Regions from separate parts of the Homo sapiens genome. Here region 2 is linked to region 1. Evidence: promoter capture Hi-C in 16 types of primary human blood cells and fetal thymus (Javierre and others, 2016). All regions are on one chromosome and are shown on one strand. The core of a region is centred on a gene start or on the middle of the fragment in contact, and the rest is flanking DNA. Distances in the headings are between cores, read along the strand shown.

Region 1 (6,452 bases), core at 1,937-4,436:
AATTACATTAAGTGACATGGTGATAAGTAGCAAAAAAAAAAAAAAAAAAAACTACTTCAAGCTAAACAGAGTATTTTCATGTCTTTGAAAAAAAAAATACATCGCACATAAGATAACTCTTGATTCTATATCATACATTCTAAGATCTGGATTAAAATAACTTCCATAACTTACACCAAATAATCATCCAGGGCTTTGGGTCTACAGCCTATCCAATGAGAAGGAGTCAATTATAACCAGAGCTACATAAAGGACTTATGGTGATGGATGGTGAAGGTATGTTGAGAAGGGAGGGAGGAGTAAAGGAAATGGATTAGTAGTATTACACTAAGGAAACAAATGAATCAACACTTGAACACCTGTTAATCGCTAATAAAGTGAGTGTACACACGACTTAACTAATTCTCAAAATAATTACTGTGTAATAGGTACATTATATTTATTTTGAAATAGAGTCTCACTCTATTGCCCAGGCTGGAGTGCAGTGGCACCATCTGGGTTCACTGCAACCTCCGCCTCCCAGGCTCAAGCGATTCTCCTGCTTCAGCCTCCCGAGTAGATGGGATTACACACTTGCACCACCATACCCGGATAATTTTTATATTTGTAGTAGAGACGGGGTTTCACCATGTTGCCCAGGCTGGTCCTGAATTCCTGGCCTCAAGTGATCTGACAGCCTTGGCCTCCCAAAGTACTGGGATTACAGGTGTCAGCCACCACACTCCGCCAAGTATATTATCTTTATATTAGAAACAAACAGATTCAGATAACTGTCTAATCTGGTCCTACTCAGAGCAACAAATAGAAGCACGAAACTCAAAATCAAGCCTTTTAATTCCGTGTTCCTGGTAAAATGACAGTTACAGATACTTTTTCTCTCATTACTCCAGTGCTAACAAAGTAGCAAGTGGAAACTCATTGAAAGAACTTCAGCTAACAGTAATCTAAAGGTGCTTTTCACTTTTTATCCTAAACATGGCTTTCTTAGCTGATAGTCATCCTTCTCTAACAAGCAGTAATGAGATTCAAGATCCCCAAGTCTAAATTCAAACCATAAGTTTAAATCCTCTCTAAATCCCCCATCCAAATTCTAGTAATTTGTAATTTTTTTTGAGACGATGTCTTGCTCTGTTGCCCAGATTGGAGTGCAGTGGCCCGATCTCAGCTCACTGCAATCTCTGCCTCCTGGTTTCAAGCGATTCTACTGCCTCAGCCTCCCGAGTAGTTTGGATTACAGGCGTCCACCACCATGCCCAGCTAATTTTTGTATTTTTAGTAGAGATGGGGTTTCACAATGTTGGCCAGGCTGGTCTCGAACTCCTGACCTTAAGTGATCCACCCGCCTCGGCCTCCCAAAGTGCTGGGACTACAGGAGTGAGCCACCTCGCCCGGCCACATTTTGTAATTATTAACTCCAAGTAAGTGGGACAGAATTTCCAATTTTCCTAGGCAGTCGTCCTAAGGGCTGGAAAGAGCATTGGACAACTGAGCCCGAACATCTCAGTTATGACCTCCAATTTGCCACTATCCAGTTATGTCATTTATAGCAAATCACAACGTTTCTGGGCCTTAAGAGATCCGTGGTTACAGCACCCTTATTTTACTGCTGAAGAAATTGAGCTTCCTTTGAGGTATAACGCTATAAAAAATTAAGCTAGGGCAGGCGCAGTGGCTCACGCCTGTAATCCCAGCATTTTGGGAGCCCGAGGCGGGTGGATCACTTGAGGTCAAGAGTTCAAGACCAGCCTGGCCAACATGGTGAAACCCCGTCTCTACTAAAAATACAAAAAATCAGCCAGGCGTGGTGACGGGCAACTGTAATCCCAGCTACTCCGAAGGCTGACACAGGAGAATCGCTTGAACCCAGGAGGCGGAGGTTGCAGTGAGCTGAGATCGCAACATTGCACTCCACCCTGGGCAACAAGAGTGAAACTCTGTCTCGAAAATAAATAAATAATAAAAAATAAAAATAAAAAACTGTGAGGCTCAAGTCGGTGGCAAAGGGCAGGAGTACTCACTTATACAAGTCGGGTTTGAGAAGCCCTAGTATCACCGAAAGTCTCCCTTTCTCATCTTCATTTTCTCCATGTAGGAATCCTGCCACAGAACCGCATTCAGTAACTTGAAGCAGTGAGGTGAGCACCTCCCTAGCAACTTCCCGAGATCTCGGAGTGGTCCATGGTTGCTCCAAGCTGTGTGTGATGGCAAAAATATAAACGGGTCCTGCCAAGTGATGCAGGCCCGTCTGCCATGCAGGGCCGACCAGGGAATTCTTAGCAGTCTCAACTTTCCCTAACAGTTTAAGAAACAGTAACCCAACTTGGGCTGCTTTCTCGGCCGCTTCGGAGTGCCCATCACCTCCACCTTCCTCCTCCTTGGAGGGGGCTGCATACTTCTCCAGGGCTTTTGCTACCTGCCCCAGTGTCTCCGGCATTCCGCGGAGCCGTGCACCAGTCCCCTCAAATAACCTATCAAATTCTGTGGCTTCTATTAGATCACCGAGGTCTTTAAGAACTGCATCTTTTACATTGCCTCGTCGTGCCTCCGGGCGGGCAAGACAGTGTAAAATCTTGGAGAAGGCCTGTCCAAAGGCGGAGTGAGACAACTCCTCGGACAAATTAGAGTCTTCCTGCGATGGGGCTTCCAGAGCGCTGTCAAGCTCCATTCCTGACTGCAGCACCAGAAGGCTGGTCTCTCCCACAGAACGAGGATGGAGGCGGGGAGGGATCCGTTGAAGAGGGAAGGAGCGATCACCCAAAGAGAACTAAAATCAAATAAAATAAAACAGAGAGATGTCTTGGAGGAGGGGGCGAGTCTGACCGGGATAAGAATAAAGAGAAAGGGTGAACCCGGGAGGCGGAGTTTGCAGTGAGCCGAGATCGCGCCACTGCACTCCAGCCTGGGCGACAGAGTGAGACTCCGTCTCAGTAAAAAAAAAAAAAAAAAAAAGAATAAAGAGGAAAGGACGCAAGAAAGGGAAAGGGGACTCTCAGGGAGTAAAAGAGTCTTACACTTTTAACAGTGACGTTAAAAGACTACTGTTGCCTTTCTGAAGACTAAAAAGAAAAAAAACTTAAAAATTTAAAGAAATAAACTTCTGAGCCATGTCACCAACTTAACCACCCCCAGGTACCTGCAACGGCTCGCGCCCGCCGGTGTCTAACAGGATCCGGACCTAGCTCATATTGCTGCCGCAAAACGCAAGGCTAGCTTCCGCCAGTACTGCCGCAACACCTTCTTATTTCACGACGTATGGTCGTAAAGCAATAAAGATCCAGGCTCGGGAAAATGACGGAGAGGTGGAACTATAGAGAATAAATTTGCATATATAATAATCCGCTCGCTAATTGTGTTTCTGTTTTCCTTTGCTAAGGTAGAAACAAAAGAATAATCACAGAATCTCAGTGGGACTTTGAAAATATCCAGGATTTTATACGTGAAGAATGGATGTATCGCATTACGGTAGTCACCCTATGTGTAAATTAGTGGCACATACTTGGCACTCCTTAATGTCAACTATAAGATGATCCTTTTGTAGTTCATGAGCGTGATGATTGGGTGTTCATACGCTTGTGTGAGATGTGCCACCCTTGAACCTTGTTACGACGTGGGCACATTACCCGTCTGACCTGAACTTCAAGGATCGATTTAACACTTGTATTTGTGGGCTTGTTACTTATGATAACAGGTGGCCTAGTTTCATGGCTTTGTGTTTACCGTTTTCGGGTGCCCTTTTTTCTGGCTGTATGCTACACGCACGGGTGCTTTTCCGTTGTCCAACTGTGTAATGTGTTTTTGTGTTTGTTCTTTTGTGAGTCGGAGTCTCGCGTTGTCGCCAGGCTGGAGTTGCAGTGTTGCGATCTCGGCTCACTGCAACCCCCACCTCCGGTTTTCGAGAGATTGTCCTACCTCAGCCTCCCGAGTAGCTGGGACTATAGGCGCGCGCCACCACGCCCAGCTAATTTTTGTATAAATATTGGCAAGGATGGTCTCGATCTCTTGACCTCGTGATGCGCCCGCCTCGGCCTCCCAAAGGGCTGGGATTACAGGCGTGAGCCACCGCGCCTGGCCAATGCAGAGCTTTTTAATGGCTTTAATTTTTTAGGTTTGGGAGATACCTGCGCAGGTTTGTTACCTGGATATGTTGTGGGATGCTGGGATTTGGAGTGCAGCTTAGCCCGTTTTCATTGCCCCCTCTAGTAGACCACAGTGTCTGTTGTTGCCACTTTTATGTCCACGTGTTCCTAATGTTTAGCTCCCACTTATGAATGAGAGCATGCGGTATTTGGTTTTCTGTTCAATGCAATACTTTAGCTGGTTTCTGGAGCTAGCGTTTTAAAGCCTGTAGCCACAAGCGTTTGAAAATTCAAATTCTAGCGTCAAGGTAGAAGCCCCCAGCTGGCGTCTGGGGCAGCCCTGAGGGAGGTGGGTCGTCGGGTTGGCGGATCCGGCTTGGGCCCGCCCCGCCAGTGTCGGCGCCGGGTGCGCAGGGACAGCAGAGCGCTGTCTTGGGCATGGGTCGCAGGCGGCGCCCGGAACGGGCCAGGGGAGCTGGAGGCTGCAGACTCGGGCTCGGCGGGTGTAGGAACCAGTGGTGTTTGCTTGGGTTTTGAGAAGGCGCGAGAAGGGTCGCGCCTGTGCGACCGCCCTGTGTTGGGTCCCCCACGCCGCGTCGGCATTGCTTGTTCCCTCTTCCTGCGCTTTCCTGGAGGGTAGAATTGCGTCCGATTGGCCTTCAGTTCCCGAGGAGCTGCTTCCATTTAGGACCTTGTGACTCTCATAGCTTCCACGGTTTCGCAGGAGCCCGAGGAGGCAAACTTCATTTGTGCCACTGCACAGGCGGGAGCTTCGGACCCTGGGAGGGGTGGCGCGAGAGAGACGTGTCGCCAGCTGCTCGGAGAGGGACTCTTATTCAGCCTCTAAGGCGTCAATTGCGCCTCCAGGGTTCCAGGAGTCCAGAGAAAGCCCTTCGGGGTCTTCTGACCTGGGGTAGGGTGAGGGGCGTGTGTGCGCGCAGGGGCGAGGGAGGGGTGACGTGTCAGGTGTCCTTTGTCCTCGCGAGGAGGTGGTTATGGGGTAGAGGGACATACAGTATTTTCGTCCCACCTTGGGGAGCGCACCAGCTTCTTGGTGCACTACTTGCAACTGTCCCATCTGCGGTGTCTTGCTGCCTACTCGCCTGCCCTTCTTTCCATTTTGCTGTCTGACCTTGGGCAAAAGTTCGGTAGCCTCTCTGTGCCTTCATTTCTTTTTATTTTTTATTTAATTAAAAAATATTTTTTTAGAGACAGGGTCTTGCTCCGTGGCCCAGGCAGGAGTGCAGTGGCGTCATCGTATCTCACTGCAGCTTCAAACTCCTGGGTTCAAGCGATCCTCCCGCCTCAGTCTCCCAGTAACTGGGACCACAGGCGCGCCCTACCACACCCTACTAATATTTTCTAATTTTTTTGTAGAAATGGGGTCTCGCTGTATTACCCAGGCTAATCTCGAGCTCCTGGCCTCGCGATCCTCCCTCCTTGGCCTCCTAAAGCGCTTAGATTACAGGTGTGAACCACCCACCTCGCTGGTGCCTTAATTTTTTTTTTCTTTTTCTTTTATTTTTCCTTCCTTCCTTCCTTCCTTCCTTCCTTCCTTCCTTCCTTCCTTCCTTCCTTCCTTCCTTCTTCCTTCTTCCTTCTTCCTTCTTTCTTTTCTTTCTTGTCTCCCTGTCGCCCAGGCTGGAGTGCAGTGGTGTGATCTTGGCTTATAGCAACCTCTGCCTCCCAGGTTCAAGCGATTCTCATGCCTCAGCCTCTCGAGTAACTGGGATTACAGGCACCCACCACGCCCAGCTAATTTTGTATTTTTACCAGACACGGAGTTTCACCATGTTGGCCAGGCTGGTCTCTAAATCTTGACCTCAAGTTATCCACCTGCCTTGGCTTCCCAAAGTGCTGTGATTACAGGCGTGAGCCACCTCGCCCAGCCACCTTAATTTCTTTATCGGAAAAATGCAGGTAGTAATAATTCGTACCACTTAGGAGTGTTGTGAGAAAGGAATTATATGTAAACTGCTTAGAACAATATCTGGTCAGCAGAAAGTTCTACATAGGTGTTGGCTCATGTTAAACCACAGCTCCTGTGTTGTTACATTTCCTCTTTCCAGGGTAATTTTGTGGTTAGGACCCTCCCTCTCGGCCTCTTTCATTCAGCTTTCCCTTCTCTGACCAATTGGTGGCACTCATGATTTTTTAAGCAATTTCAACCACTGGTAACCATCTCCTCCCGAGGGGACTCTCCTGTTTGCAGGCCCAAGTGGAAGCAAGATGCCAATAAATAGACAGTTATTGTGTCCCTCCTGTGTGCAAGCGTCTCTTCCCTGTTCCATGTGCCCCTTGTGCTAAGTGGACCCAAGCTATTACTTCTTATAAGGAAAGCACTTGTATTGTGGAGATCTCCCCATCTGCACTTCT
Region 2 (6,452 bases), core at 1,391-3,890, 5.4 Mb after region 1:
AAACCCAGAAAAACAGAAGATTTTAAAAATCACCTATAAGTCCACCACTAGGGTAATTACTGTTATCGTTTTTAGGTATATTCTTGCAAAACTGAATATTTAGTATTAAACACACACATACACAGACACACACACACACACACACATTGATTATCTCTGGTAAGAATAACAGTGTGTTTGAGAACATGGGTAGAAGAAATACTGCTTTTCAATGTTGTTATTTTGTACTTTTTTTTTTTTTTTTTGAGATGGAGTCTCGCCCTGTCACCCAGGCTGGAGTGCAATGGCGCCATCTCGGCTCAATGCAACCTCTGCCTTCCAGGTTCAAGCGATTCTCCTGCCTCAGCCTCCCAAGTAGCTGGGATTACAGGCGCCTGCCACCACGCCTGGCTAATTTTTTGTATCTTTAATAGAGATGAGATTTCACCATGTTGGCCAGGCTGGTCTCGAACTCCTGACCTCGTGATCCGCCCACCTTGGCCTCCCAATCTGCTGGGATTACAGGCGTGAGCCACCACGCCCAGCCCATTATTTTGTACTTTTAAAAAATAATTGGTAACTCCTTTGTATGTGAGAACACAAGAATTTAGAAGTCAAGCAGGGAAGCATCGACTTCATTCTTTTCTACTGTGTGATTCTGAGATGCTATTGTTCTCCTTAAAACCTAAATTTTCCATCTGTAAAGTGAGATGAAAAATCTCTAATTCCCTGAGAGTGGGGGAAAAGGAATATTTAATTCTTTTGAACTTTGTACTGTGTATATATATTGCCTATTAACAAAATAATAAAAGGACATAAGTCTACGTGTCCAAATATCCTTTTTGCTTTTCTTTGTTTTCTATGGTTTATAATAATCAGCTTGTATTGGGAATCACTGATGTAAAAGTCAACCCACTTCACTGACTACCATAGGCATCTCTTGGAATAAACTGGCTAGAGTTTATTCTTGCTAATAACTTTGACTATATTCACCCACAAGTATTTACTAAGAGTAGCCCCTGTGTGGCCTCAGTACTGAAGTAGTGAATTATTTAACTAGTCTATAGTGAATTATTTAACTAGTCTAAGCAAAAATAAAGTCAAACAGTGCTAAAACATGGTCATAGATCCAAAGTTAAGTACCTATTCATTCTCTCACTCTGAACTGGGAAGTCCCAGTTCTTCCCTCTAATTGCAGGGCATCACTGAGGATGCAGAATTCCGAGTGGTGCACTACACTTATTCAAACTGATGGGAAAACAATGCCATCAGCATGAATCAATAGGAATGGTGCTCTTGGCCAGGAGACTGTTATTTCTGGGGACGGCACGCACACTCATTTCTGAGGCTGAGAAATGACACTATTAGTGTTAGACTTAGCAGTACAACAATGCTTTCCAAACTTTTTTACTAGGAAATAACTTTAGCACCAGTAAGTATGTATGTATATGTGTGTATGTATATATATTTATATGTATATCTCCTGTTTATATTTTACAAGTCTGATTTTATAAACTTCCAGATGTTCCACCAGAGTTTTCTCTTTTTTGATTTTACCTTATTACTGTCCTTTACTGCTGTTCCTCTTACTCTATAAACAGAAATTTCCTAAGCTTCTTCCACTCCCCATTTTCCTACTCTCAAGGCTCTGAGAATTTGAGCTAAGAGACAACCTTAAGTATTGGGCAAAGGTCACTGAACTACCATTCAGAACCCAGGGATTCAGATCATGACTGGCTGTGTGATTCTGAGATGCTATTGCTCTCTTAAAACCTAAATTCTTCCATCTGTAAAATGAGATGAAAAATCTCTAATTCCCTGAGAGTGGGGGAAAAAGAATAGTTAATAATTTATCATGAAGTGTTAGCTCTTTGGGATAAAAGTTTCAAATGAAATACGAGGATTTAAATCCAAAGGTATGACACTGATTTTTCAAATTTAGCATTGTCAGCACTTAACCATGTTTCCTAAAAGCATGAATTCACTCAATCCCAAATGCCATGGTATGAGACAGTTATCTGTCATCACCACCTTCCCCATTTTATAGAAGCACAGAGAAGTCACTGGTCCCTGGCTATTCAGCTAATTAGTGACAGAGTCAGGAGTCAAAACTAGGTAGCTGGGTGCCAGAGTCTAGTTACTAGGCAGCCAGTAACTACGAAATCACAGCCAGTTAACTTCCAACTGTGTCCCTTCCTTGCTCAAAAGCCTTCAGTGGCTCTTGAAGCCTAATAATAAGTACAGACTCCTTAGCTTAGCAATAAAGACACTCCAGCTACCTTTCTTTCCTGTTTCATTCCCCATGAAAATCCTTCCTATGTCCTCCCGTGCTCCAGCTCAACTGTACCAGCCACACTTCCCTGAATAGATCCCATGTGGTCCTGCTCTGTGCTTTGCCTCTGATCATCTCTGTATCTGGAATCCACCTATTCTCACCTCCTCTTCACTTTTCTACATTTTAACCTTTCTTTCAAGGTCCTTGCAAGGGGCCATGTCCTTCATGCATTTTCCCCTGCCCTTCTCAACCACAGCTGGTTGATAATCTTCCCGGGGAATTTTATCTCTGCTCTCCTCTGCATGTATCAGTTTCTGTACATACTATGTTCCCTCCTTAGTAAGAGATGAGCTCCTCGAAGGCTGCAATATTATTTTCTTCCTCATGGAACTTTTAAATTTTATTAAAAATTTAAGCCATTCCTGTTCTTTTTTTAAAAAAAAAACCAAATGCATGCATGCTTGTTGCAAAAAAAGAACCCTCACAGAATACATCTCTTAGAAAGTGAAATCCACCATTATCACCCCTCTACCCCTGCCCTAAGAGAACTGTGGTTAACAGTTTGGAATGTATTCTTATAGAGCTTTTTCATGCAAAAAATTATTTACAGAAATGGAATTATACTACATGTAAAGCTCTGTACTTTTTTCACTTAAAATGTATAGTATTTTTCATATAGATATCTACCTCATTCTTTTTTTTTTTTTTTTTTTTTTTGAGACAGCGTCTGGTTCTGTTGCCCAGGCTGGAGTGTAGTGATGGAATCATAGTTCACTGCAACCTTGAACTCCTGGGCTCAAGTGATCCTCTTGCCTCAGCCTCCTGAGTAGCTGGGGCTACAGGTGTGCACCACCATGTCCAGCTAATTTTTAAAAATCGTTCCCAGAGACAGATCTCGCCATGTTGACCATGTTAGTCTGGAACTCCTGGGCTCAAGTGATTCTCCTGCTTTGACCTTTCAAACTGCTGGAATTATAGGCATGAGCCACCCCACCCAGCCCTCATTCTTTTCTAAGTGCAGCATAGCATAAGATTGTAGTGATGCACCTGTTCAATCCCTTCTTGATGCGCATGAAAGTGATTTCCAATTTTTACCATTATGACCAATGCTGCAGTGAATATAAATACATATGTGTGTGCATGTATTGCTATCTATATATCCATATAACTTTCTTTGGATAGGCAATTGCTAGGTGAAATGGAATGGAGATTCTAAATGATGATAAATATAGGAAGTGTCAGCGGTGGGAAGGAAGAGTCTTGTTTTATGCTTTTCTGCATCCTTCACAAGGCCTAACATTGCATCTACCAGTGTAGCTTGGTAGGTAAAAGACCAGGCTCTGGCCTCTGGCTGTCCAGGTTTGTATCAGGGCTTTATCTGTATGCCTTAGCCATCTCATCACCATAAAATAATGGCAGGGTCATTGTCATTATAAAGCTTAAATGAGATAATACATGCATAACAATTAGCAATTAGTAAGTACCTGGAAAACAAGTAAATGCAAGACATACAGAAGGAAAAATGGTAATGGGTTCAGATAATTGTTTGTTGAATGAATTGGACTGAATAAAACAATGGCAGTTTGAGCAATCATTCTAGAAATGGATGGTACAGAACTATTCATACTTTGCTATCAAAACCCATAGCAACTATTTATAAAATGACTGGCTAACATTAGAGGTGCAGTGTATAGCCCTGGAGCAATCCATCTCTGTGCAAAATGAACTGGCCTGAGCCAGAATCAAACCAATGACCTTGGCCTCTTTGGCCCCACACTTTCCCTAATAGAACTAACTGGCCCCAGCTGCAGCCTTATGTAATGGGTATCTATGAGGACAGAACAATAGTTCCCTGCAGGGTACACTGGCTCACCACTGGAGGTTGTTAGGTTATCTAGCTAACCAGCCATTAACATTGAAAATGAATAGAAAGTACATAAATAAATGCTTAGAGTAGTGCATAAGGTTTTCTGTTGAGATTCTTAGGTTCTAGGCCAGAAGTTTTCATCTTGGTGGCAAGGTTTCTATACCAATACTAGAAGATTCTAAGGTAGTCAACTCTGGGTTCTAGAACCAACTCTGCCACTAACTATTATAGCTTCAAAACCTTGAGCAAATTGTTGAGCTTTATTTTACCTTGGTACAACAAGGGGGCTGAAATAGCTCACATGAAACGTCCTTTTTTGACATTCCTTTCCCCACAGGTACAGTCACATTCTCAGACATCAGGGCTGTTTATTGCACTGAACAAAATTAAAGTATAAAATTAGGCAACAGCAATACTGTACTTTCAAAATGTGTCAATGAAGTGATGGCAAAAGTAAACATAAGAAGCTAGACACAGCCAGGTGCGGTGGCTCACGCCTGTAATCCCAGCACTTTGGGAGGCGGAGGCGGATGGATCACTTGAGGTCAGGAGTTCGATACCAGCCTGGCCAACGTGGTGAGACTCTGTCTCTACTAAAAATACAAAAATTAGCCGGGTGTGGTGGCGCAGGCCTGTAATCCTAGCTACTCGGGAGGCTGAGGCAGGAGAATCGCTTGAACCTGGGAGGCGGAGGTTGCAGTGAGCCAAGATCATGCTGCTGCACTCTAGCTTGGGCAATAGAGTGAGACTCTGTCTCAAAAAAAAAAAAAAAAAAAAAAGCAGCAACAGCAGCTAGACACAGAAGGCCACATATATATGATTCCACTTATATGAAGTATCAAAAATAGGCAAATCTGTAGACTGGATGGAAAGCAAGTTAGTGGTGACCAGGGGCTGGGAGAAGAGAAGAATGGGAGGTGACTGCTTAATAGGTATGGCGTCAACTTTAGAAGCCATGAAAATCGGTTGGAACTAGACAGTGGTGAGAGTTGTACAACATTGTGAATTTACCGAATGCCACTACATATACACTTTAAAATGGTAAAATTTATGTCATGTATACTTTATCACAATAAAAAAGTGTCCCCCCAAAAAGAGAGAAAGGGATGGCAAAACATAGCAGGGCACAGACTCACTTGACGCCTGCTTCAAGGTGACATGAGAGGAGGGTGGGGGTGGGGGTCCCTCTGAGGAAGCCCTGGGAGATCCAGGAATAAGAGAGTGGACATTAGTGCAGGATTTGTCATCTAACTGGGGCCAGGTCCTGGCCAGGGACAAGTGTAGCAGTAAATGGGGCTCCAGTGAAGTATGAGCATCTCCCCGAGTGCACTGATGATGACCTTCCCTCAGCCCAACATGTTCCTGGCCTCCTCCCACTGGTGTCAAACTGTATCCATCTAAGTCCCATTTCAAAGCCCACTCCCTTCTTGAGCTCCCCCACCGTCCCCCCCCACCCCCCATCCCCCATTCAGAGACACATTTCCCTCTTTTTTATTTATTTTTTTTCTGAGACAGGTTCTCACTCTGTCACTCAGGTTGGAATGCAGTGGCATGATAATGGCTCACTGCAGCCTCAAAATCCTGGGTTCAAGTGACCCTCCCATTTCAACCTTTAGAGTAGCTGGGACCACAGGTGCATACCTGGCTAATTTAATATTTTTTATTTTTTGTAGAGATGAAGTTTCCCTAGTTGTCCAGGCTGGTCTTGAACTCCTGGACTCAAGGGATCCTCCTGCCTTGGTTTTCCAAAGTGCTGGGATTACAGGTCGTGAGCCACTGCCCCTGGCTATATCTTGTCCTTCTAAAAGTTGACAGCACTTACTCTCTGTGCCATTCCCAGGGCACAAGCCTGCTTCAGCCTTCTAGAGACACCTGTATTCTCTTGCCACCCAAGGCCTTCTGCTTCTCTTTGCCTCCCAGCATCCAAAACAGTAGTGCTCAGGAAATACTTGTGGCTCTGTGATGGAGTGACTCAGGCAGCCCCACGGGGAGTAGAGTTTTATGAGTTTAATATGAACCATACCCTGAAATCTGAGAAATTTACCTCATTGCTCATGCTGGAAACCCTCAGTTCCAGTCGGATTTGCTTGGAGCTGGATGGAATTGTGTTGCTTTTCATACTGAAAATGATCATCTAATTTTTAAATTTAAAAAACATTTACGTAGCACCTACTTCACGTTCGACAGGAATCTCAACACTTCACAAATGTTAACTCACTGACTTTTCCTAACAGAGGCATTGAGAAGTTAAGTAACTTGCCCAGGGGTCAAAGCCAGTAAACGGCAGAGCTGGGCTTCAAATCCAGGTTCCTTGCTTCCAGAGGAGATGCT

The links. Contacts are between HindIII fragments. The CHiCAGO score rates a contact against its expected background, and 5 or more counts as called.
Region 2: a contact is called between a fragment that was not itself captured here and the fragment with the promoter of TTI2 in region 1, in 1 of 17 cell types (activated CD4 T cells). The highest score is 6.1, in activated CD4 T cells.

Annotation. Positions count from the first base shown.
Region 1 is chr8:33,509,949-33,516,400 of GRCh38, forward strand. TTI2 (TELO2 interacting protein 2) reads right to left here and starts at 3,187. Exons shown (of 8, transcript NM_001102401.4): 1 at 3,134-3,187; 2 at 2,019-2,764. The coding sequence starts at 2,665. SNORD13 (small nucleolar RNA, C/D box 13) reads left to right here and starts at 3,527; the gene lies at 3,527-3,630. RefSeq lists enhancers at 3,219-3,358, 4,879-5,168 and a silencer at 3,789-3,838. The HindIII fragment of the contact is 19,476 bases long and covers 1-6,452 here.
Region 2 is chr8:38,893,137-38,899,588 of GRCh38, forward strand. LOC124901937 (a long non-coding RNA gene) reads right to left here. Exons shown (of 2, transcript XR_007060893.1): 2 at 6,114-6,452. Among named protein-coding and RNA genes, the nearest start is that of PLEKHA2, 5.0 kb to the right of the region's middle. The HindIII fragment of the contact is 2,100 bases long and covers 1,591-3,690 here.